Linked DNA regions of Homo sapiens: regions 2, 3, 4, 5, 6 and 7 are each linked to region 1. Evidence: promoter capture Hi-C in 16 types of primary human blood cells and fetal thymus (Javierre and others, 2016). All regions are on one chromosome and are shown on one strand. The core of a region is centred on a gene start or on the middle of the fragment in contact, and the rest is flanking DNA. Distances in the headings are between cores, read along the strand shown. Region 1 holds the start of PLEKHG7 (pleckstrin homology and RhoGEF domain containing G7). Region 2 holds the start of EPYC (epiphycan). Region 3 overlaps LOC105369896 (a long non-coding RNA gene). Region 4 overlaps LOC105369896 (a long non-coding RNA gene). Region 5 overlaps LOC105369896 (a long non-coding RNA gene). Region 6 overlaps LINC02823 (long intergenic non-protein coding RNA 2823). Region 7 overlaps LINC02823 (long intergenic non-protein coding RNA 2823).

What was found. The method cuts DNA at HindIII sites, captures the fragments that hold promoters and counts their contacts. A CHiCAGO score of 5 or more calls a contact.
Region 2: a contact is called between the fragment with the promoter of EPYC here and the fragment with the promoter of PLEKHG7 in region 1, in 1 of 17 cell types (total CD4 T cells). The highest score is 5.4, in total CD4 T cells.
Region 3: a fragment that was not itself captured here is called in contact with the fragment with the promoter of PLEKHG7 in region 1 in 4 of 17 cell types (activated CD4 T cells, total CD4 T cells, naive CD4 T cells and 1 more); the score reaches 6.6 in activated CD4 T cells.
Region 4: a fragment that was not itself captured here is called in contact with the fragment with the promoter of PLEKHG7 in region 1 in 5 of 17 cell types (activated CD4 T cells, non-activated CD4 T cells, naive CD4 T cells and 2 more); the score reaches 10.4 in activated CD4 T cells.
Region 5: a fragment that was not itself captured here is called in contact with the fragment with the promoter of PLEKHG7 in region 1 in 6 of 17 cell types (non-activated CD4 T cells, activated CD4 T cells, total CD8 T cells and 3 more); the score reaches 8.9 in non-activated CD4 T cells.
Region 6: a fragment that was not itself captured here is called in contact with the fragment with the promoter of PLEKHG7 in region 1 in 6 of 17 cell types (non-activated CD4 T cells, total CD4 T cells, activated CD4 T cells and 3 more); the score reaches 14.7 in non-activated CD4 T cells.
Region 7: a contact is called between a fragment that was not itself captured here and the fragment with the promoter of PLEKHG7 in region 1, in 10 of 17 cell types (naive CD8 T cells, total CD8 T cells, activated CD4 T cells and 7 more). The highest score is 13.1, in naive CD8 T cells.

The regions. Positions count from the first base shown.
Region 1 is chr12:92,701,348-92,704,614 of GRCh38, forward strand. It overlaps PLEKHG7 (pleckstrin homology and RhoGEF domain containing G7), which reads left to right and starts at 1,642. Exons shown (of 17, transcript NM_001377329.1): 1 at 1,642-1,785. RefSeq lists an enhancer at 1,783-1,842. The HindIII fragment of the contact is 11,169 bases long and covers 1-1,985 here.
Region 2 is chr12:91,003,325-91,006,591 of GRCh38, forward strand. EPYC (epiphycan) reads right to left here and starts at 1,648. Exons shown (of 7, transcript NM_004950.5): 1 at 1,623-1,648. The HindIII fragment of the contact is 5,756 bases long and covers 1-3,267 here.
Region 3 is chr12:91,281,411-91,284,677 of GRCh38, forward strand. The region is part of intron 8 of LOC105369896 (a long non-coding RNA gene); the gene reads right to left. Among named protein-coding and RNA genes, the nearest start is that of LINC02823, 44 kb to the right of the region's middle. The HindIII fragment of the contact is 972 bases long and covers 1,196-2,167 here.
Region 4 is chr12:91,302,252-91,305,518 of GRCh38, forward strand. All of the region lies in intron 8 of LOC105369896 (a long non-coding RNA gene), which reads right to left. Among named protein-coding and RNA genes, the nearest start is that of LINC02823, 23 kb to the right of the region's middle. The HindIII fragment of the contact is 908 bases long and covers 1,016-1,923 here.
Region 5 is chr12:91,320,508-91,323,774 of GRCh38, forward strand. The region is part of intron 8 of LOC105369896 (a long non-coding RNA gene); the gene reads right to left. Among named protein-coding and RNA genes, the nearest start is that of LINC02823, 4.8 kb to the right of the region's middle. The HindIII fragment of the contact is 6,024 bases long and covers 1-3,267 here.
Region 6 is chr12:91,337,239-91,340,505 of GRCh38, forward strand. LINC02823 (long intergenic non-protein coding RNA 2823) reads left to right here. Exons shown (of 4, transcript NR_183611.1): 2 at 2,309-2,394. All of the region lies in intron 8 of LOC105369896 (a long non-coding RNA gene), which reads right to left. Among named protein-coding and RNA genes, the nearest start is that of LINC02823, 12 kb to the left of the region's middle. The HindIII fragment of the contact is 1,008 bases long and covers 1,172-2,179 here.
Region 7 is chr12:91,358,747-91,362,013 of GRCh38, forward strand. All of the region lies in intron 2 of LINC02823 (long intergenic non-protein coding RNA 2823), which reads left to right. All of the region lies in intron 7 of LOC105369896 (a long non-coding RNA gene), which reads right to left. Among named protein-coding and RNA genes, the nearest start is that of LINC02823, 33 kb to the left of the region's middle. The HindIII fragment of the contact is 8,216 bases long and covers 1-3,267 here.

The DNA of each region.
Region 1 (3,267 bases), core at 392-2,891:
TTTCCGTGATAATCTTTTGTGACCTTTCTATAAGACTCTTAATTTCCTTCTTGAAGTTACAACCAGAGGTTGGAAGTTTTTGCATTGGGATCAAGTATTCCATTATCATTATCCCCTAGGAGAGACAGCTTTACAATCCCATGTGCGTGAGGGGATTGGTAGAAAAGAGTATGACCTTCCTTCCACAAACTAAAAGCTAAAAGACTTTATTCATTTTTTTCCTTCCCAAATTGAAGCAATTCACTTCTAGACATCCTTGGCAGGAGCTCAGAACTGTTTATGCAGGCTCCATGCAGGCAAAATATTTTTTGATATCCTGCTTTTGGTTGAGTCATGGTAATGTTGGCAATGGTGGTGAGGGCAGGAGATCAAGTCATTTTTCAAAGTTCTAAGTAAATGATGTTCTAGTAAGATCAATATGAGAGAATTAAAGACTAATATAAAGTTTATCACAAGGCCAACATCTATAAGTTAGACCTTTTTTTCTTTTCCTCTAAGGGCAGTGGTTCTCAAATTTTAACCCATGTAAGAATCACCTGGAAGTCTTGTTAAACACAGACTTCTGGCTGGGCACAGTGGCTCACACCTGTAATCCCAGCACTTTGGGAGGCCGAAGTGGGTGGACCACCTGAGGTCAGGAGTTCGGACAGCCTGGCCAATATGGTGAAACCCCGTCTGTACTAAAAATACAAAAGTTAGCCGGGCCCTGGTGGTGTGCACCTGTAATCTCAGCTACACAGGAAGCTGAGGTAGGAGAATCGCTTGAACCCAGGAGGTGGAGGTTGCAGTGAGCTGAGATCGTGCCACTGCACTCCAGCCTGAGTGACAGAGTGAGACCCTGTCTCAAAAAAAAACCACGGACTTCTGACCCCATCCCAGAGTTCCAGGGGTTGGAGAGCATGGAGGGGGAAGATTTTTCCTTTCTAACAAGTTCTCAAGTCATAGTGATACTGCTGGTCCAGGGACCCTACTTTAAGAACTACCGACCTCAGGGAACCTTCACAGTAAGTATCTGTAATGAGTCCAATCAATGAAAACTTCAGTGAATTAGACTTCATTAGAATTACTTCAACTTTGTTTTGGGAAAGTCTATAGACATTTTTGTTTAATGCTGCATACATATGCATTATCTCCACCTAGGCATCAAATAAATATTCTTTGGGGTACTGATCTAATGAGAATACTGGTAGATATAAATGCTCTTCCATTTGCATTTTAATTATTTGAAAACTAATGTTCACAAATTCACTCCCTGGTGCTCTAATCATTTCCTCTACTATTCAATGCTTATCAAAGCAAGTCATTAATAAAATAGATCAACACAAAATGTTTTATGATGTGAAGAAAGTAGAGTCCCAAAGAATGCATCTCACAACCTTAGAGAAAATAAATGAAATAGAAACCTAGAACTGCTTCACTGAACTATGAGTGATGATTTGTTGAATGCCTCAAGAGGAAGTAAAAAGTTACATTTGCATCATTTCTGTATTTGATCAGCCGTTGTTTACCTGACTTGTTCTTAGGCTGCCTTAGATTCTGAGCTGGCTTCCCTTTAGGCTTTTTCATAAACAAATAACTGGAAATGTCTCTAAGGAGGGGAGAGACCAGTTCCTCATTGCAGCTGGTAGCAAGGTTGCTTTCACTCAGCCAGGAGGACGCATTGTTACAGGTGTGGAACTTGTTGCTCCGAGCCCTCGCCTGGCAGCTCACTCTGGATCTGCGGGTTCTGAGGAGCCTCGGGACCCACCTGGGTGCAGTTGCCTTCAGGGACAGACCATCTTACAGGTATTAAAGGCAACATTCAGCTGCTTTCTGGGTTTCTCTCTTGCACTTTCCTTTTGTCCTATTGCTATCAGTTTCGCTTGTTTTGCTGATCTCTCCAGGTCTCATTAGAATTAGTGAATCATTAACCTGCAATGGTTTCATTTCTAGTACAGTGAGATGGCTTCCCCAACAGTGTGGGTGGGTGTTTGCTGGATTCTCAAAGCTTGGAAGGTCAAAGGTTGGTGAATTTTCTTTATGGTGACCATGTATTAATTTCCTCTTTTAAACATAAAGAAGAGTTAGCATGAATGGATTGACTTGTTAACTTTTGATTCTACCAGATCCACTGGGTGTAGTCATTTAGGGAAAGCTTCCCAGGAGCCTTAGCCATTATCTCATTTAATTTCTGCAACAGGCCTGTGAGGGAGGTTCTTTGATGTCCTCTTGGTAAATGCTGCATGGCAGTTGGCAGAGGAGAAGTGGCTTGTCCTAGGTCACACAGCCAATTGGCGGTGATACTGGAAGAGAAACCAGACCCATTTCTTCTGGTGCTTGAGCTCTTCCTGCCTTTCTGCAAACCACCTCCCTAAGCCCTGCTGTTTTTAAAGTTTCTCCATTTCCGCAGTGCATCATGTCGGCAGTTACTATTGCCTTGGTTCCAATATTTAAGACAGTGGCTAATAAATAATTCTTACCGATGTGAATCCTATTGGCCATAAATAACTTCCTACCAGCAGCTACACCCCTGTGTCTGAACGACTACAAAGGAAACCCAAAGCCGTATCCTAACCCCTCAAAAGAGGAGAGGAAAAGGCCAGAAGGACAGAGGGGAAACCCAAAGACTAAGAAATCTGATCTAACTATTATGCAAGTGCCTATGCAAATATACTGAATTCCTTTAACATTGTTGCTGCCTAGAACTTGGACAGTCTTCTAAAGGAGAAAAATAATAGAACGGCCCTGATTGTATGTATGTGTGAAAGTACCTATTGATTCAAAATTAGCTGGGTGGGGTGGTAAGCATCCATAGCCCCAACTACTCAGGAGCACTGCAGCATGAGGATTCTGTGAGGCTAGGAGTTTGAGGTTACAGTGCGATATGATCACACCTCTGCACTCAGCCTGGGCGACAGAGCCAGACTCCATCTCTAAAAAGAAAAAAAAAAAGAAAGAAAGTACCTATAGATTTGATGCTCAGCTCAGCATTTGTTTGTTGGGAGAATGAGGAACTGGCCTCTCCATGTAGCAACAATGTACCTTATTTTATCAATGGTAGGGAGGGACCATTTCATACCTCTCCAGCAATGTTGGTATCAACCTTCAGAGCAGCCTCCAGGAATTACCAATCTAAAACCAAAACTAGTACAATCTCACCTTAACTGAACATAAGTTTCCTAAACTGGCATTGCCCTCTTTCCTCCACTCTGCAAAAAAGGGTACCTCATGGGTTTTAGTTCTACATGTGAAGTTCTATAACAATTGAGTCCTCAGCTCAAAATAAAG
Region 2 (3,267 bases), core at 398-2,897, 1.7 Mb before region 1:
TCAGTATTTTATTTAATTCTTAATAGCTATCTAAGATTTGAACTCAGAACCAACAGGAATACATGTTTAAAAGGCACTATTTGGTAAGATTCCCTTGTATGCCTGTGGGATTATAGCCATCTTTGTTTTTTAATTCCTTAATAAGCACAATTCTTATTTTCCATTATAACATTATGCTTTTTGAGGATTCAATCAAGATCCTATAATTTAATTATTTTTTTAGTTCTGTATGTACTCATTTGAATACATTTTGGTTTAGAAAAAAAATCTTCACATTTAATTTGAAACATTTAAGTTAGTCTTACCAAAATGTTACCTAGTGATCCCTTATTGAGCAGGCAAAGTATTGTAAAATTCTGTATCAAGCATGTCTAATTTTAGAGGCTTTTACATTTGGACACACTTCTTGGGTTTACTTTAAGAACAGTACCTGTGGTGTTACTACCTATGCATACATATAAAAGGGAATTCATGATAAATATTACTTTTAAACTTGAATGCACTGGCAGACAAAATGACCTTCAGTTACTTGAAAGAAAGCCTTTATGAAGCAGGTTTAGGCAGAAGGATATGAAATTCCTCTGAGAATAAGAAGCAGTACAAGGAGCTCCTTCTTAGCTCTCCTATGCTTTCTTCAAATAAATTTCTTATTCACACAGGATAAACTAAGCCTCTATTTCAGTTGCCTTTGCAGAAGTCTTTGCAGGATTGCAGATTTGGAACTGTTCTAGGCAATTACCAACAAAGTCCTACTTAATAAAACAGTGGGTTTGCAAATCTTCCAGGAACCATTCTCCCATAATCAAGTTGGAAACATTAACAGAAGCCACTACCAACTTAAAAAAAATTTTTCCTTATATGTTTCTGGCAACTTCCATTATTCAAAGAAATTATACACTTGCTGGCCTTTTTTCTCACATCATACTATATTTGATTACATATAGCTACATCTCAGAATTTGCTTGCATTTTGCATCACTCCTAGAGCTATCAACTATAAGGCAGGCTGTGTGAATCTTAAAAATATATACAGCATCTATCTATGTTTAGTTAAAAAATTTATATTCCTTTCTTCAAGTAATTGTATTAGCATTTAATGTAGTTTCTTAATTAACACTTTAATTTTGTGTTCACTTTATACCATTTATTAATATTTTAAAATTTGTGTATTTAAAACTTTCAATATATAGCTCAAAAAAATTTTAAATGCATAATGTCATGTAATCATTACAATACTTTTAATCTCAGGAAATTTCACTATTTCCTCCCTTTTCACAAAATTTCAATTAATATCAATCAATAGTGCCTGTCTATACTGGCAAAGAATGTGGTCTGTGTCAGGAAACTTTACTTAAGGCATATATTGGAAACTACTCTAATTTTATTGGCATCTGTCATGACTACTGAGATTAACTATTTGCTGTATGTTATTAATTCCTAAGCTAATTCAAAATTTTGGATTTTCCAAGAATAATATAAATACAAAGTCAATAACAAAAATAAACCAAATCCATTGAATCAAAATTCACCAGATGACATTAAGGCAAGTTAAATTATTTTTTAAAGGTTGTTATAGTAGGGAAAGAACTCTGACCCAAGAAGAAAGCAAGTATAAAAACTTACCTTTGGCTCTGACCTGATGAAATGGCACAAAGTGACTGAGGATGCAGAGCTAGTGGTATTTGCCCCTGACCAATGGCTGTGAATTCTGGTCTGTGGGAGGTGGAATTTATAACACTCAACTTTCTGTTTGCAAAACCTAATATTGAGAAATACTTCTCAGTCTTTAAAAAACCTCAAATTATTTTATAGTCACCCAAACTAAGCAGTAGGATCCAAATCACATAGTATACAAAGTTCTTGAAATTATGTTAATGGAGTTATAATTGCCAAAGTATCACCTTAAAATTTTTAAATGGAAAAAGTTGGATTTAACATACCTCATCTGTAACAAACTCACCAATTAAGAAATGAAGTTCATGTATACAGTGATACTATAGATGGATATTTTAGTTCTAATAAGAAATAATTTTCCCAAAACTTGAAGTCTTGAATTGCTTTCTTCACTTTTCATTAATGTTAAGTGAAATTTGGTAAATGTTGCAGAAACCTTACCTGTTTAATATTGGGTAAGTAAAAAAAGATATCCCAATTATTTTGATTGCATGGAATGCTTTGATAGCAAAACAGGGAAAAATGAACCTTTTGCATAACTTTAAAAAAATTACATCCAGAAGTGATGCATAAATATGATCTGCGTGTTTTGGGGAGAAAAGGGGCTTTTTTTAAAAAAAGTTATTGTATCTATCATAGACAAATAAATCAAATTACACATTTTTTCCTTAGAATAGGAGCTTTATTTTAAGCTCTTGTTAACTTCCATGGTTTGTAAAATTGAACTTTAATACAAATATGAAGAGAAAAAATATGCTTTAAATTTCCATACCTCAATTTTACATTGTATAAGTCCTAGAGAAAGGTGAAAGTTGCATCTTGTATTCTGGTATGCTTTAGATAAATCTAGGAATTTGGTTCTCACTTATGCTTCAGGAATCTTTTCCTTCATGTCTGCAAGTGAATAGATGTATTGAATTTTGAAAGCGGTATTACTCCTGGGCCAAGTGATGGGAGAGAAGAAGGTTTGTCTTTAAGGTTCTCTCACTCCCCTTCCTGCCTCTGCTCCCATCTTCCCTGCCCTCAAAATGTCTTTGCCCATCTATTCAGGGCATTCTTATTTGTCATCCCCATCATCCAACCCTGTTTCCAAATGATTTGTTCTTAGTATGCATTGTTTTTCTCAAAAACAATTTTATTTGGAGCAGAAACAGTGATAATGGGTAATGTATGAAGTCTACCAAGACCTCTCAAAAAATAGAGAGGCCATCTTGGAGACAGGAACTTATTTCTGGCATCTGTGAAGTCTCACCCCACCATATAAAGGCCACTTTTAGAAGCAGTGCTGGAAAGATGCCTGAATCCAAGTTTCTAGGCTTGTCCTCTTTAGAAGCAAGGTCCACGTGGGGTGTCAGGTGATTTCATATATGATTGTTAATCACCTCAACACATTCTTAAGCAGAGTGCTTACCACTATTCACAGATGGGACTACTGAGACTCAGATGATAAATGATACAGCACCATGTGTGACACAAAAAAAGAGGAAATCAACTTGGCTTTTCTCTGTGTCAGGTCCCTAGACATGATTGAGTCTGTCTGAGGGATACGTGTATACACAAAAAGGCAGTGTTAGCTCTCAGTTCCACGCATTTC
Region 3 (3,267 bases), core at 432-2,931, 1.4 Mb before region 1:
TTATTTCTTTCTTTTTTTTTTTTTTTTTTCAGATGGAGTCTCACTCTGTCTCCCAGGCTGGAGTGCAGGAGTGCAGTGGCACCATCTCGGCTCACTGCAAGCTCCACCTCCCGGGTTCACACCATTCTCCTGCCTCAACCTCCAGAGTAGCTGGGACTACCGTCGCCCGCCACCGTGCCCGGCTAATTTTTTTTTTTGTATTTTTAGTAGAGATGGGGTTTCACTGTGTTAGCCAGGATGGTCTCGATCTCCTGACCTCGTGATCTGCCCGCCTCGGCCTCCCAAAGTGCTGGGATTACAGGCATAAGCCACTGCCCCCAGCCTACATCTTATTTCTTAATAACTATATTAGTCTGCTCAGGCTTCCATAGCACAGGACCACAAATTAGGTAGCTTAAACAACAGAAATTTATCTGTTAAAGATAAGACCAAGATCCTATCAAGTTTGGATTTTAGAGAAGCCTCCCTTCCTGGCTTGCACATGGCCACCTTCTCGCTGTGTCTTCAATGGCCTCTGCTCTATGCATGTGTAGTGAAACATCTCTGATGTATCTTCCTCTTCTTAGGAGGACACCAGTCCTATTGGATTAGGACCCCATCCTCATAACCTCATTTAATCTTAATTATCTCACCAAAGAGCCTTTCTTCAAATACACTCACATTGGGGGTTATGAAATAAACACAAAAATTTGGGAGGAAATAAATCAATCTGTAACAATTGCCTTTATAAACTAGGTAATCCCTGTTACTTACACTACTATCAGCCACAAAAGAAAAAGGAAAAAGAGAAGGAACATCTCTATCAAATAACAGAAAAGAACGGTTCCCAACTTCTTTCATGAGGCCAGCATAAACTTAATAGCAAAACCTAACAGAGTCATTAAAGTAAAATGATAGTACAAACCAATCTTATGCATAACTGTCAAAGCAAAATTCCACTCCAACAAAAACAGCAAACTGCATTCAGCAATACATTAAAAACATATACTCAAAACACTGCAAGATTAGTTAACATTTAAAAATGTGTAATAATTCAATTCATTGAAAATAAAAAATATCAACAGGTCAATAGATGGAATAAAAACATATGAAAAATTTCAGCATGGATTTATGATTTTAAAACTCAGCAAACTATAAATAGAAGGAAATTTCTTACTCTGATAGTGATTATGTTAGTTGATGGAGAAATGTTGAAAGCTTTTCCTTTGAAATTGGAACAAAAGGACAATAATTATTTAACATTGTTTTGGAGATCTTGGCAAATGCAAAGGGCAAGTAAGTGAAACAAAAGGGATAGTCACCAGAAATAAAGAAATAAAATGTTCATTATTCGTGGAGAACTTGATTATGTTGTAGAAAATCCAAAATAGTTTACTGAGAATGATGATTTCCAATTTCATCCATGTCCCTACAAAGGACATGAACTCATCATTTTTATGGCTGCATAGTATTCCATGGTGTATATGTGCCACATTTTCTTAATACAGTCTATCATTGTTGGACATTTGGGTTGGTTCCAAGTCTTTGCTATTGTGAATAGTGCTGCAATAAACATACGTGTGCATGTGTCTTTATAGCAGCATGATTTATAGTCCTTTGGGTATATACCCAGTAATGGGATGGCTGGGTCAAATATTTCTAGTTCTAGATCCCTGAGGAATCACCACACTGACTTCCACAATGGTTGAACTAGTTTACAGTCCCACCAACATTGTGCACATGTACCCTAAAACTTAAAGTATAATAATAATAAAAAAAAAGAAAATCCAAAATAATCTAAAGAAAAACTATCAGAATTACTAAAAAAATTTGGCAAGGTCACCAGATACATCAATATGTAAAAAAAATCCATTGTATTTTTTAGTCTAGCAACAAACAAATGGAAAAAAATTAATAAGATTTTCAATAGTATAAAAAAGAAATAAATCTTTAGAAAAGTGCAACATCTGTGAAAGAAACCAAAAAATAGTACTGACAGAAATGAAAGAAGTCCTAATAACATAGAGGGATACAGAAGACTTAATGTTGTTATAATGTCAGTCCCTGAAATTGATTCATAGATCCCATTCAATCCCAATAAAATTCTTAACCAGTTTTCTTTTCTAAGGTAGATAAGCAATTTTCATGACTTTTATATGGAATATAAAGGGCCGAGACACCCAAAACAAGCTTGTAAAGAAGAACCAAGTTAGAGAACATGAACTATGTAGTAAGTCTTATTATAAAGCTACTCTAATTAAGAGTTGCAATATTAGAGCAAAAATAGACAAATCAACAGATGAAACAGAATGAAGAATACAGAAATAAACCTACACATTTATTATTATTCGTTTAACAAATGTAGCACATATACACATATACAGATACATAAATAAACATATATATCCATATATAGATACAGCTAGATATTTCTGTGTGTCTATATATGTGTGTGTGTGTGTATATATATATATATATATATATATATATATATACATAGAGAGAGAATGCTATAAATATGTAGATATAGATATATCTGTCTCCTATTGGTTCCATTTCACTAGAGAACCCAGACTAATACATTTATGATCCCATTTATATTAAATTTAATATTATAAAAATTCTTCCTACAGGGTTATAAGTCAGTTAATTAAATGAGACGAGCCCAGCATATGTTCAGGTCATGTTTTTCTCACCTAGAATTAATTTTTGCATTGCTCTCTTTGTGATAATTAATCAAGATGTATACTTATGATTCATGACTTTACCATATGCAGGTTTACTTCAACAAGAAATATTTTCAAATATATAACTCTTGGAAATAAATAATCAAAACTGATTTTATTTATGTATTATGCTGTCTGGTGTATACAAAATCTAAAAAATCTATAGATAATATATACAAATAGTTTGTGGAGTTTGTTGGTTACAAGATCAATATATAAGAATTTTTTTTTCTAAAAATAAATATTTGCCTGGGCATGGTGGCTCAGGCCTGTAACCCCAGCACTTTGTGAGGCCAAGGAGGGTAGATCACTTCAGGTCAGGAATTTGAGACCAGTCTGGCCAACATGGTGAAACCCCATGTCTACAAAAAATACAAAAAACTAGCCAGGTATGGTGGGGTGCACCCGTAATTCCAGGTCCTAGGGAGGCTGAGGTGGGAGAATTGCTTGAACCTGGGAGGCAAAGGTTTCAGTGAGCCTAGATTGTGCCACTGCACTCCAACCTGGGCAACAGGGTGAACCCTGTTTCAAAAAAAAAAAATCAGTCATAATAACACAAAAA
Region 4 (3,267 bases), core at 220-2,719, 1.4 Mb before region 1:
GGAGGGGAACAACACACACTGGGGCCTGTCACGTGTGGTTGGGGAAGGAGAGCATTAAGAAAAATAGCTAATGCATGCTGGGCTTAATTGCTGGGTGATGGGTTGATAGGTGCAGCAACCCACCATGGCACACATTTATCTATGTAACAAACCTGCACATCCTCCACAAGTACCCCAGAACTTTAAAATAAAATAAAATAAAATAAAATAAAAACTTTTAACACTGCTTTATTGTTCTGGTATGTTGTATCTTTGCTTTCATTAGTTTCGACTAATTTATTGATTTCTGCCTTAATGTCATGGTTTACCCAAAAGTCATTCAGGAGCAGATTGTGTAATTTTCATTTAATTGTATGGTTTTGAGAGAGATATTTGGTATTAACTTCTCTTTTTATTGCACTGTGTTCCAAGAGGATGGTTCATATGATTTCAGGGTTTTCTTTTTTAAATTTGTTAAGAATTGCTTTCTTGCTGAGTGTGCAGTCAATTTTAGAATATGTGCCATGTGCAATTGAGAAGAATGTATATTCTGTTTTTGTTGAGTCAAATGTTCTGTACATGTCTGTTAGCTCCATTTGGTCAACTGTTGTGTTTAGGTTCCATATATCTTTGTTAGTATTCTGCCTCAATGATCTGTCCAATACTGTCAGTTGGGTATTAAAGTCTCCCATAATTATTGTGTGGTTATATAAGTCTCTTTGTAGGTATGTAAGAATGTGTTTTATGAATCTGGGTGCTCAGTGTTGGGTGCATATATATTTAGAATAGTTCAGTCTTCTTTTTGAGTTGAACCATCCCCAAGACAGGTAGTCATCAGAGTCTCCAAGACCAATGTGAAAGAAAAAATATTAAAGACAAGTAAGCAGAAGGAGAAGTTCACCTACAAAGGGAACTCCAGCAGGCTAACAGTGGACCTTTCAATAGAAACTCTAAAAGTCAGAAGAGATTGGGGGCCTATGTTCAGCATCCTTAAAGAAAAAAATTCCAACTGAAAATTTTATATCTGGCTAAACTAAGCTTCATAAGCTAAGGAGAAATAAAATCTTTTTCAGACAAGGAAACACTAAGGGAATTCAATACCACTAGACCTGCCTTACAAGAGGTCATTTCCATACTAAACACAGAAATGAAAGACTGGTACCTGCCACCACAAAAACACACTTAAATACATAGACTATTGAAACTAGAAAGAAAATATACAATCAAGTCTACATAATAACCAGCTAACAACACAATAAAAGGATCAAATTCACACATACTCATGTTAACCTTTAATGTAAATAGGTTAAACATCCCACTTAAAAGGCACAGAGTGGCAAGTTGGATAAAGAAGCAAGGCCCCACTGTATGCTGTCTTCAAGAGAACCATCTTACATGCAAGGACATCCATAGGCTTAAAGTAAAGGGATAGAGAAAGATCTATCAGACAAATGGAAAGCAAAAAAGAGCAGGGGTTTCTGTTCTTATTTGAGACAAAACCAACTGTAAACCAACAATGATCAAAATTACAAAGAAAGGCATAAAATAATATTATTTTAAATTACAGGCTTTTGAAGTTGCAATGGTCCCAAAGTATCCCAAGGTTCAAGCACAGATTCCTTCTATGACTCTCCTGATGCAACAAGGATTGGTCAAGCTAGTGAAATTCCACCTAAAATGCTCAATCCAACCTGTTGCCCAAATGAATCTGCCTCCTACCATTCCTCTGCAGTCAATGATTTGAAGAGTCCTAGAGAAAAACGCTCAATCTGAACCCTACTTTCTTCCTTTTCTCAATGATCACTAGCTTGCTTTGGCTATTTTTATGTTTCTTCTGAATAATACAGTAGACTTCTCTCCAGACTTTTTATCTGTAGTTTTCCTCATAACACTAACCCTTCCAACACATTCTGCCAAAGTTATTTTTTCAAATACAAGAATCCAAGCTTCTCACTTTTCTCTTTAAATAATTTTGATGTTTCCTTAACAACTACAAGAAAAAGGCTAAAGATCTTAGTGTTATAAAATAATAATGTTAGGAAAGTCTCTCCAAATGCATTTCTCTCTATCATTCTGATCTTCTAACCAACATTCTGCCAGCATTGCTCTCCCCCAAAAAGAGATGCCTTCCTCATACTCTTTTGCATTTGAATATGCTGTTTCTTTTGTGGCAAAGCCTTTCTAATTCTGTTCTGTTTGGTGAATCCTAACTCATCCTTTAAGACGCCACTCAAGTGTCACAAGCTCTGAAAAGTCCTTTAGGCAATAGCTGTTCTTCATTTTTGTCTCCACAGTACTGTTCAGAATTCTATTTAGCATGTATCAGATTGCATTTTACCCATCTCACTACATACCTGACTTCCCCCTCAAGTTATGAATTCCTCCAGGATAGGGATGATAATCATACACCCACAATGTCAGGTTCATTTTCTGGCATGGAGGAGTTCAGTGTGCCCTTATTCTAGGACTGCAAGAACAACTGAATAAATGGAGTTCTTCCACAGAAATAAGGAGTCTTCACATTCCTGAAAACCTCTTGTTAAAACTTGATTAAGTAAGATCAGAAAATAAATCATGGAGATGCCTTTTTACTTTGTTTAAAGAAGATATACCATGAAATTCTGTGGAAATTCAGTGAAAAATGACATTCAATTTCCCTCCTTTCAATTGTGGGCTAAATAGTATTGCCAATACTGTCTACTCTTAAAAACTGAAAATCTGTTTTTCAGACTGCAAAATATCTCAAATTCTTGACTCCTTCTACTGTTACTAAATCAAATTGCATTTTGTTTTCCACTTAAATTTTCATTTTACTCCAGGAGTTTTTAGAGAAGCCACTTGTATTAGTGAATTTGTGTTCAAAGTGCAAATTCTGCTGCCCAGTTTGTTATATCATCCCCTCCTATAGCTGTGATTTATCTATTACATTCATGGTGTATCTTCTAGATAATTAACATTTATAGGTAGTAGAGTAGAGTATATATCTATATATAGAGAGAGAAGGAGAGATATATTTGAATCTTATCTCATATGTATAAATTCCAGGTGAACGACCTGATGCTTAGAAAGTCTAAGCCACTTATTAGGGTGGACAACCCTCCTGGTTTGCCTGAAATAAAAAGAGTTTCATAGATGTAGGACTTTCACTTTTAAAACCAAAAAAATCCCAAGGAAATCCAGCAGAGTAGGTCACTCTATTACTTATTTAAGTTCACACAATAAGTAGCAGATACAAAGGCCAAATTGAGTTCTACATATGCCCCAAATTCTATATTTATTCCACATGCT
Region 5 (3,267 bases), core at 247-2,746, 1.4 Mb before region 1:
AAACTATTGCAAGGACAGAAAACCAAACACCACATGTTCTCACTCATAGTTGGGAATTGAACAATGAGAATACTTGGACACAGGGCGGGGAACATCACACACTGGGGCCTGTCATGGGGTGGGGGCATGGGGGAGGGATAGCATTAGGGGAAATACCTAATGTAAATGATGAGTTAATGGGTGCAGCAAGCCAACATGGCACATGTATACATACGTAACAAACCTGCACGTTGTGCACATGTACCCTAGAACTTCAAGTATAATAATAATAAAAAAAGAAAGATGGCCACACTATTGGAAGTTTCTATTGATGAAGATAAAGGTAATCTCTAACTAGGTTTATTTTGTAAGTAAATGCAGCACCATCTCACTTTAATACAAGTTGGGACTAAAAGTATTGCAAGTAGCACAGAGTACCCCTTCAAAACATAAAACTTAACATTTGACTGATAACTTGTATGTGTGGGAGGAATTCTCTATCATACTCTTTCTTAGGAGGCCGTACTGAGTGACATATGGTTTATGTGGTACATTTACAAATAATATGGTTCAGAGACAGTATAGGGTTCTGTTAAGGCCACTTGACTGATGGAGTGGTGCCACCAAATTTCCAAGCAAGGAATGTTGCAAAGAGAAAATATATAAGACCCAGAATTAGGATAACATCTGGATTTGGGTGTGCCTAAACGGATCATGCTTTTATGCAGAAAGTCATGGGAAGTGCCCAAACTGAAAAGTTGCGGGTTACTGACGCTGCTCCGATTGCCTGCACACAGTGTAATCCCATCCATCTGCCAATCGACAAGAATTAGATCCATATATATGCATAATATATATACACATATATATGCATATATGTATATGGATCTTAAACATAAATGAATTATCTTTCTCTATAGATATATGGTATTGCTTTCTATATAGAAAGAGCATTCATTTGTGTTTAAGTTCTGACAACCCCTAAGATTTCAAAGTATTTTCAATGTATTGATGGAACATCAGGAAGCACAGATCAGTTCAACCCAGGAGCGTTTTACCACTTAGTTTAGAGCTCCGAAGAGAAGTCTGGGTAAAAAACACAAATATAATTCTGTCTTTATTCAAGAAAATTCTAAAAATTGAACTTACAAAAAAGAGAATGTCGATATATATACAAGGCACGACTTATTCGATAGTTCCTTGGAAGATGTTGGAAAAAATTAGAAAGTTGGCATAAACCAATCTCTACCATGGGGTTGGTAATAGAGAGATTAGAAAGTGCATTGGACATATTGGACTTGAAGTTAAAAACATGTATTCCAGTTTGAAGATATGTTTTTTATCTTCTGTATTTTTATTGTTGTTGTTTGTTTTGTTTTCGGGAGACAGAGTCTCACCCTATCCCCCAGGCTGGAGTGCAGTGGCGCAATCACGGCTCACTGCAATCTCCCCCTCCCAGGTTCAAGCAATTCTCATGCCTCAGCCTCCTGAGTAGCTGGGCTTACAGGCGCCCACCACCATGCCTGGGTAATCTTTATATTTTTAGTAGGGTTTCGCCATGTTGGCCAGGCTGGTCTCGAACTCCTGACCTAAGGTGATCCTCCCACCTCCCAAAGTGCTGGGATTACAGGCATGAGCCACTGTACCCAGCTATCTTCTGTATTATTTTGGGCAAGTCACTTCACCCCTCAGAATAAACTTCCATCTCATCATATACACAGTTAAGCTAATAATACTTGCTTTTGCTACTTCAAATGGTCTGAGGAGATCATTCCTATCTCGGTTGAACTCTGGAGATGTGTTTGCTCCTGCCTGGTTTATTATTATATAGCATCTTCTGTGTCTTCCTTTTTAGTTGCCTGGTACAGTGCCTGTTGTACAGTACACATTTAACAGACACTGCAAAATTTGTATAACTGTATAATTGTATAACACACACAAGAGGAAATAAATAGAGTACTCAAAAAGATTTGTTGTGAACTCTAAAAAGTGAAAAGTATTAGAGAAGTCCAAAGTAGAGAAGAAACAGAGTGGGAGAAGGCATAAGAAGACATTAACCTGATAATTTTCCATGGCTGGTTGTAAATTTTCTTATGAACCCAAACAAATTATGAAACAAATATTTTCAGCTATTACACACTGGATTAGCCTATCACACTATGTAACTGACCTTGTGTTATACTCTCTTTATACTCTCTACAATTAATGATCAATCTATAACACTGCTGTCCAAGAGAGCTTTCAGCAATGATGGGAAGTTCTACAAGCATATCTTGGAGATATTGTAATTTTCATTTTAAAGCACATATTACAGGAAAGTGAGATGCACAATTTTTTCAGTTTTCCAGTGCATATACAAGTTATTTGCAAACTATATTACAGTCTATTAAGTGTGAAGTTGCACTATGTCTAAAAAATCTACATATATTAATTTTAAAATACTGTATTGCTTAAAAATGATAATCATCTGAGCCTTCAGCGAATCATAATCTATTTGCCAGTGGAGGATCTTGTGTCAGTGTCGATGGCTGCTAATCAATCAGGGTGGGGTTGCTGAAGGTTGACATGCCTGTGGAAATTTCTTAAAATGAGACAGCAATGAAGTTTGCCCCATTGATTGACTCTTCGTGTCCCAAAAGATTTATCTAGCATGTGATGCAGTTTGGCAGCATTTTACCCACAGTGGAACTATTTCAAAACTGGAGTCAATATTCTCAAACCCTGCTGCTGCTTTATCAATTAAGTTTATGCAATATTCTAAGTCCTCTGTTCAACAACATTCATAGCAACCTCACCAGGAGTAGATTCCATCTCAAGAAACCACTTTCTTTGAACATCTACAAAAAGTAACTTCTCATTTGTTAGTTTTATTATGAGATTGCAGCAATTCAGTCACATCTTCAGGCTCTACTTCTAATCCTAATCTCTAGTTAACTTCCTCCAGTGAAATCTTGCACTTCTCAAAGTCATCTATGACGGATGGATGAATAAACTCCTGTTAATCTTGACATTTTGAATTATGAATGTTATGGATGGTATCTAGAATGATAAGTCCTTTCCAGAAGGTTTTCAATTTATTTTTCCCAGATCCATCAGAGGAATCAGTTAATGGCATTGATGGCCTTACAAAATGTGTTTCTTAAATGACAAGACTTGAAAATCAAAATTACTCCTTGATCCATAAGCTGCAGAATGAATGTTGTGTTAGCAGGAATAAAAACAACATCAATCTCCTTGTACATCTTCAACAGAGCTCTTGAGTAACTAGGTGCATTGTCAATGAACGGT
Region 6 (3,267 bases), core at 426-2,925, 1.4 Mb before region 1:
CCTATTTTTACATAGGTTGTTTATTTTCTTTATTGTTGAGTTTTACAAGTTCTTTATATATTCTGAAGACACATCCATTGCCATATATATGCTTTGCAAATGTTTTTTCCTATACTGTACCTTGCCTTTTTATTCCCTTAACAGTGTCTTATGAAAAGCAGAATTTTTAATTTTGGTGAATTCTGACTTTATTATAGGCCATGCTCTTGATGTTGTATCTAGTAAATCCTAGCCCAGAGAATCCTGTGTTCTCTTCTAGAAATTGTATAGTATTAAATTTCATATTTAGGTCTAATATCCATTTTGTGTTATGTTCAAATAATGAATTGACATTGATTTTATGTTATGATGACATTTTCATGTGTTTTGCTTTGTTTTATCTTCTGCATATTATTTGATTATTCCAACATCATCTAATGAGAATATGATTCTTTCTCCTTTGACCTGCTTTTACACCTTTTAAAGAATATCACTGTCCATATACGTGTAGCTCTATTTTTGGAATCTCTGTTTTATTCCATTGATCTATTTCTAATATTTGTACAAATACAACATTGCCTTGATTAAAATCACATTATAAGAAGTCTTGATATTAGATAGTGTTAGTCCTCCCACTTGGTTCTTCTATTTCAAAGATGTTTTGGCTTCTCTAGATTACTGCATTTCCCTGTGAATTTTAGAAATTTTTTTTTCATTTTCTGCCAAATCAAAACAAAACAAAAACTAGTACTAAAGACCCATGGGTATAGTATGGGTCTCAGTATACTTAGACCTTCAGTAATTTCTGTCTGCAATTTTAGGCAGTTTTCAGTGCACAGATTTTTTTGGTGTTTTATCAGATTTTTCCTTAATAACTTCATATTTTTGCTGTTAATACATATGGTACAATTTTTTATTTTTAATTTTTGATTGTTGGTTGCTAACATATAGAAATATAACTGATTTTTATATAATCTATAAGTTTGTCAAACTCATAGGTTCTAATATCATTTTATATATTTCATTACATTTTTTATAAAATGTTTGAATAAAGTTTTACTTATTTCTTAGTGACATGAGTGCCTTTAGTTTTAATTTCTTTATCTTATTGCACTGGCTAGGGCCTCTGTTTTAATGTTAAACAAAATTGATAAGACCAGACACCTTTGTATTTTTCCTAATCTTGGGAGAAAGCTTTAAGTCTTTCACTATTAAACAAGATATTAGTTGTATATTTTTTTATATCTGAACTTTATCAGGTTGAGAAAGTTACCTGCCATTTCTACTTTGTTGACATATTGTCAGGAATGAATGTTGGATTTTTTTCAAATGCTTTATCTCATTAATAATAGTGTTGATTTGGTTTGTTCCTTTCAGTTTATAATATGGTGATTTTATCTGATACATTTTTGAATGTTAAAACAACCTTACATCCAGGATAATTACTACCTGGTCATGATGTATTAGTGGAATTATACAGATATCAAAACCAGACAAAAATGTTAACATAAAAGAACATTACATACCAATATTTTTCATGAATAAATATGCAAAAATAGATAGATATGCTACCCAAATTTTAGCAAGTCAAATCCAGTAATATATGATGACTATGTGTGGTTTAACCCAGGAAGGTAAGGTTCAAGAGCAATGGGAAGAGGAATAGAGAGGACTTGAGTAAGAACATGGAGTAAAATGAATTTGTGATGACTTTGATGTTGAATTACCCTCCAGTTCTGCATTAGTGCTATCATAAAACTCAAGTATTCCTTATTTTCTTATTTCAGTAAAATTTCTTTCTCCTGATTTTATATGTATCCTTAGCACAAAACCTCCATTAATTGAGAAATAAAGGTGGGTCTCTGCTCCTTGAAGCCAAAAACTCTTAACTAACAAAACATCCTTGATTATCTTTGTTTGTGATTAGGGTGTGCTTAGATTAAGATGTTTTAATATTCTCCATAATGTAATAGAGTTTATGGATCTTCTTTATGTTAACACTCAGCAGGCCCTCACCGAACAACTGACCTGACAGCTTCCTTGACTCTTCCCAGCCTCCAGAACTGTGATAGATAAATGTTTGTTGTTTAAGTCATCTAGCCTACGGCAAGTTGTTGTAACAGCCTGAACCAATTAACACATAAGGCTTATAAATGGTGATTTTGTGAGGAAAGATTTAGTTCCTCTAAAATTTTGTGAAAGCTTTTTACCATAAGTTGCACTTTAGGACATAAACCCTATTCCCTTTGTGTAAATACATAAAAAGAAGTCAATAAAGCCTCTAGGATTTACACCTCAAACTACTCCCTCTCTATCTTCATTCTGCCAGGTGGATGTCTCCAGGGAGGCCATACCTAATGAGGAGCTCCCAACAAATGGCAACTGATGTTACCTACAACCGAATACGTCAAGAAGGTTAGAAAAACCAATACAAAGTTAGTCTGTCAGAACCTGTGTCAGGCAGAGGGCTCCCGTGCCACATAGTTGCTTTAAGATGTTAATTGATTATAAAGCACAGTAGGCTCCCAAACAACAATTATACTCCAAAATGAAGTGGAAATCTTAATGAAGACATCGAGACACATCATAAGGACTTAAGTAGAATATTTAAAAAGAAAAATTTATCAGAATTCTCTAAAGCAGATTTTTTGATTACACAATGAGAATGAACTATATAATAAGGAGAGAAATATTATCTTTTGAAGAAAAACATCTTCAAAAAATAAAAAAAGTTTTAAACCTAGGTCAAACATCCTTCAAAACCACCCTATTCCATTTATTCTAATAACATACTCAGTAAGTATCACTGTAGTATTTGAGATACACTGAGAAGATTTCACTGGATAATAGATATAATTGTTCAAATTATTTTTCTATTTAGCACATATAAATCAAGCCCCTGTAGAGCTCCAGACACTGTTCTAAACATTGGGAATACAACAGTGAACAAAACATATATAGGTGGTTACAGATGTTATGAAGAAAAAAAAAGCAAATAACAGGGTTATAGGTTGATGGGGCAGGGGGAGTGCTATTTAAATAAGAGGATTGGAAATTAAGTTATAATAATAAGGTGACATTTAAACCGACATGTAGGCAGAGTGATGGAGTGAGCCATATAGAATAAGGCTGTTCCAGATATGGAGAGCAGCAAATGCCAAAAATCCAAAGCAGTTTTATGCTTGGCCATATTCAAAAACCAGCGAGGTGGACAATATGGGAGGAGCAGAGCAGGTTAAGTATCAGACTTCCACACTGGGGATGCTTCAGCCTCCTACCTCCCATTAA
Region 7 (3,267 bases), core at 463-2,962, 1.3 Mb before region 1:
TCAGATGCCAATTTTTAGTCCACAGGAGGAACATGAGCATGCCAGAAGCTGTCACCATGTGGAATTGTTCTGAAAGTCACACATACTGTCCTCTTCACAGGTTAACATTCCTGGCCCAAGAATTTACCATTGCAGAAAAGTAATATGGATACTTTTTGAATTATGACATAATAGTTCATATATGTGCATACACCAATGCTTAATCAGATAACCAAATGGCAATGAAAGGCAGCCATAGCTGGCCCAGCCTATGGGCCTTCCTGAAAATACCGTATTCAAAATAGTGAAATTATTCTCAGGGAGGAGGTGAGAAAAATCAGGGATTCCAAAGGGATGGTACATATTTCTGAGAATGAAAAGTGGCTCTATACCGTTCTGTAAGCCAAAGCCTGAGGTGCCTCCAACTTGTACCCACAGAGATAGTCCCTCACCAGGTATGACTTTCACTGAATTAGATCACTTCCCATCCTTTCAGTATATAAGTCATGAGTTGTGTAATTTGAAACAAAGACTGGAAAAGAAAATTGTCTATCAAGGAAGAAATGCAATTCTTCCTTACGCAAAATAAATCCAGAGATAAAGCCCAGGGCTCCTAAATTATCCCCATAGAGTCTTCCTCTATCTTCTCTTTTATCATCTTTTGTGTGTGGCTTCTATCCTCATGGTCACCTTCCAGTTCAAAACGGGGAACTCAGACCCTGGCATCACATCTATATTCCAACATAGGAAGAAGAAGGAATAGAGAGGGAAATCAGACTTTCCTAGCTGCACACGAATTTTTTTTCCACGATGCTTCACTGAAAATTGTTACCAAAAACTTAATACTACTGGCCAAAAGTTAGTCATATGTACCTGGCTGAAAGGGATGCTAGGAAAGACAGTCTGTTAGCTGTGAACATTGTTGACTCAAATTACTTTAAGTTCTATTACTAAAAAAAAAGTAGAGAATGGATACTCAGAGGACAACTAGTCAAATCTGCTCTACTAAGTTAAGGATATGAGAGAAGGAAGAGTAACAATGAACTGACCCTGAACTGATAAAAATGATGACAGGCAAGAACTTCCAGGCAAAGGGCAGAAGAGTCAGGTTAGGTTCCAAGAGTGTAAAGTCTTGGCTGCAGATTGGAGCCATCCAGAAGTTATTAGTGCAATGGAATATTAAGAAGTTTAGGATTTAGAACAAGATAAGTGGGAAAGAAACTGTGCTGTTCTGTGCACACCACCTCCTGGTTTTGCTAACTTGTTCAGGAAGAGTGCTTTACAATAAATCTGGGTCAGGGTTTTTGGCCCAAATTGGCAGAAGCTATCAATTGATTCTAAATGCTAGACCCATGTCTCCACATCCAATAGATATTATTATCAGAGTCTACCTGATCTGGAATCTGTTTGTTGCAACAAACCCTTGGGGTTAGTTGTGCACAAATCTCTAATCTTCGGAACCAGAGAGATGAGGATTGTTAATGATGGAATAAATCAACTGTTATAAACAAATTCTGGCTAAACATGTGAACACTTCCTCCTTTGCATTTTGTACTCCTAATGGTCCCTCTTTGGCTGGGGGTGGGAATTCCTTAGGTTCAGCACTGCTCCTGGGTGGACTGTCACCAACCCCCTGCTTTTCTTTGTTCTCCGTGGGTCGAGTTATTTGCCTAGTCAGGCCCAATGTGAGAACCTGTATATTTCAGTTGCAGGTGCTGAATTCATGCACTACTTTCATTCACTCTCTGTGAGCGCTGTGGAACAAGGTGTCAAGGAGGAAGTGTTCACATGTTTAACCAGAATTTGTTTATAACATTTGATTTATTCCATCATATTCTTATATTGACACCAGAAATACTGCCTCTGGATTTCCACTTATTTTTACCATTCAGGAAGACTGGTTTGTTCCTGATCTCTACTTCAAGGGGGATGTAAGAGTAGAAAGGTGTGGGTAAATTTTTCAGTGTCCAGTTTGCTTTAAGATTGTGTTACAGAAATTGAACTGGGTGTATATTAACTTTCCTTTCCCCCATCACTGTAGGAAGAGTTTCCTTTACAGTATCTAGATGCAGATGAAGAGTTCTGGAGCCATGACATTTGGTGAAACTATTCACATTGCACAATGGTCAAGGCTGCATAGTAATTTTCTCCATTATCTACCTACTTCTCCAGTCACATTTAACTCCACACTACTGCTTTTCCCTCTTCCTCTTTCACTGTGCATTTTTCCCTGCTACCACAGGCCATTTGCGTGTGCTGCCCAGCCATCTGCAACACTCCTCTCACCTACTTGCTTGCCTCTGGCACTCCCTCCTCTAAACACACACATTTAGTTTGTATTCATCCTTCAGACCTCAGGTGAAGCAGCACATCTTAGAAGAAACGCTTTTTGAATCTTAAAGAGCACTCAAATCATTATAATATGCAAACTTGAACTGTCATTTCTACAAAAGTATATCTTAGCTTGAAATTTGCATACATTAATATTAATATGATTAATGTCCCTCTACCCTGTTTGGCTCTAATCACACTGACAGCAAGGAGTGGGTCTTTTATGCCAACTATTATATTACCAGCACTCAACATATGCATGGTAAATAGTAGGTGTTCAATAAATATTTTGTGACTGAATGCATGAATCTATATTTGTCCCTGGCATATAATAAGCCTTTGTCACTCTCTCTTTCACATACACACACACACACATCTTAAATAAATATATCAACTAAACAAGTTAATATATGTTAAGTGAATTTATGAAAAAATTGTTTACAATGCTGTGTGGTAGAGTGGAATGAACATGAACTTTACAGTCAGGCATTTAGGACCTAACAGCAGTTCTTCAATTAATGGCTGTCTGAGTTTGGCAAGTTATCTTACCTCTCTGAGCCTCAGTTTCCTCATCTGAGAAGAGGATAAGAGCTTTGAACTTAGTTGTCAAAGTCAAATGAGATAACGTTAAAAAACTGCCTAGCTGAGTGGTGAGTATTCCGTAAGTGCTTAATAAATGGAAGCTACTGCCATGATTGAATTTGTATTATCATTATGTTAAAGCAGGGAATAGAGGTCAGTTTAGTTGAATTACACACACAAAAAAAACAGTGCTGGCTACATAAATTGGTTCAGTAACTAGCTGTAGAATAAATGAATAAATTCATTTTGAGAATCACTTGAAATCTGTACTGTGAACAAAGTATTTTTCAAGAGTATTTTACAACAACTCAGAATCCCACCACTAGGTGTCGATAAATATACACTATAAAAACAAGACCTGGCTTCCTAGATTCT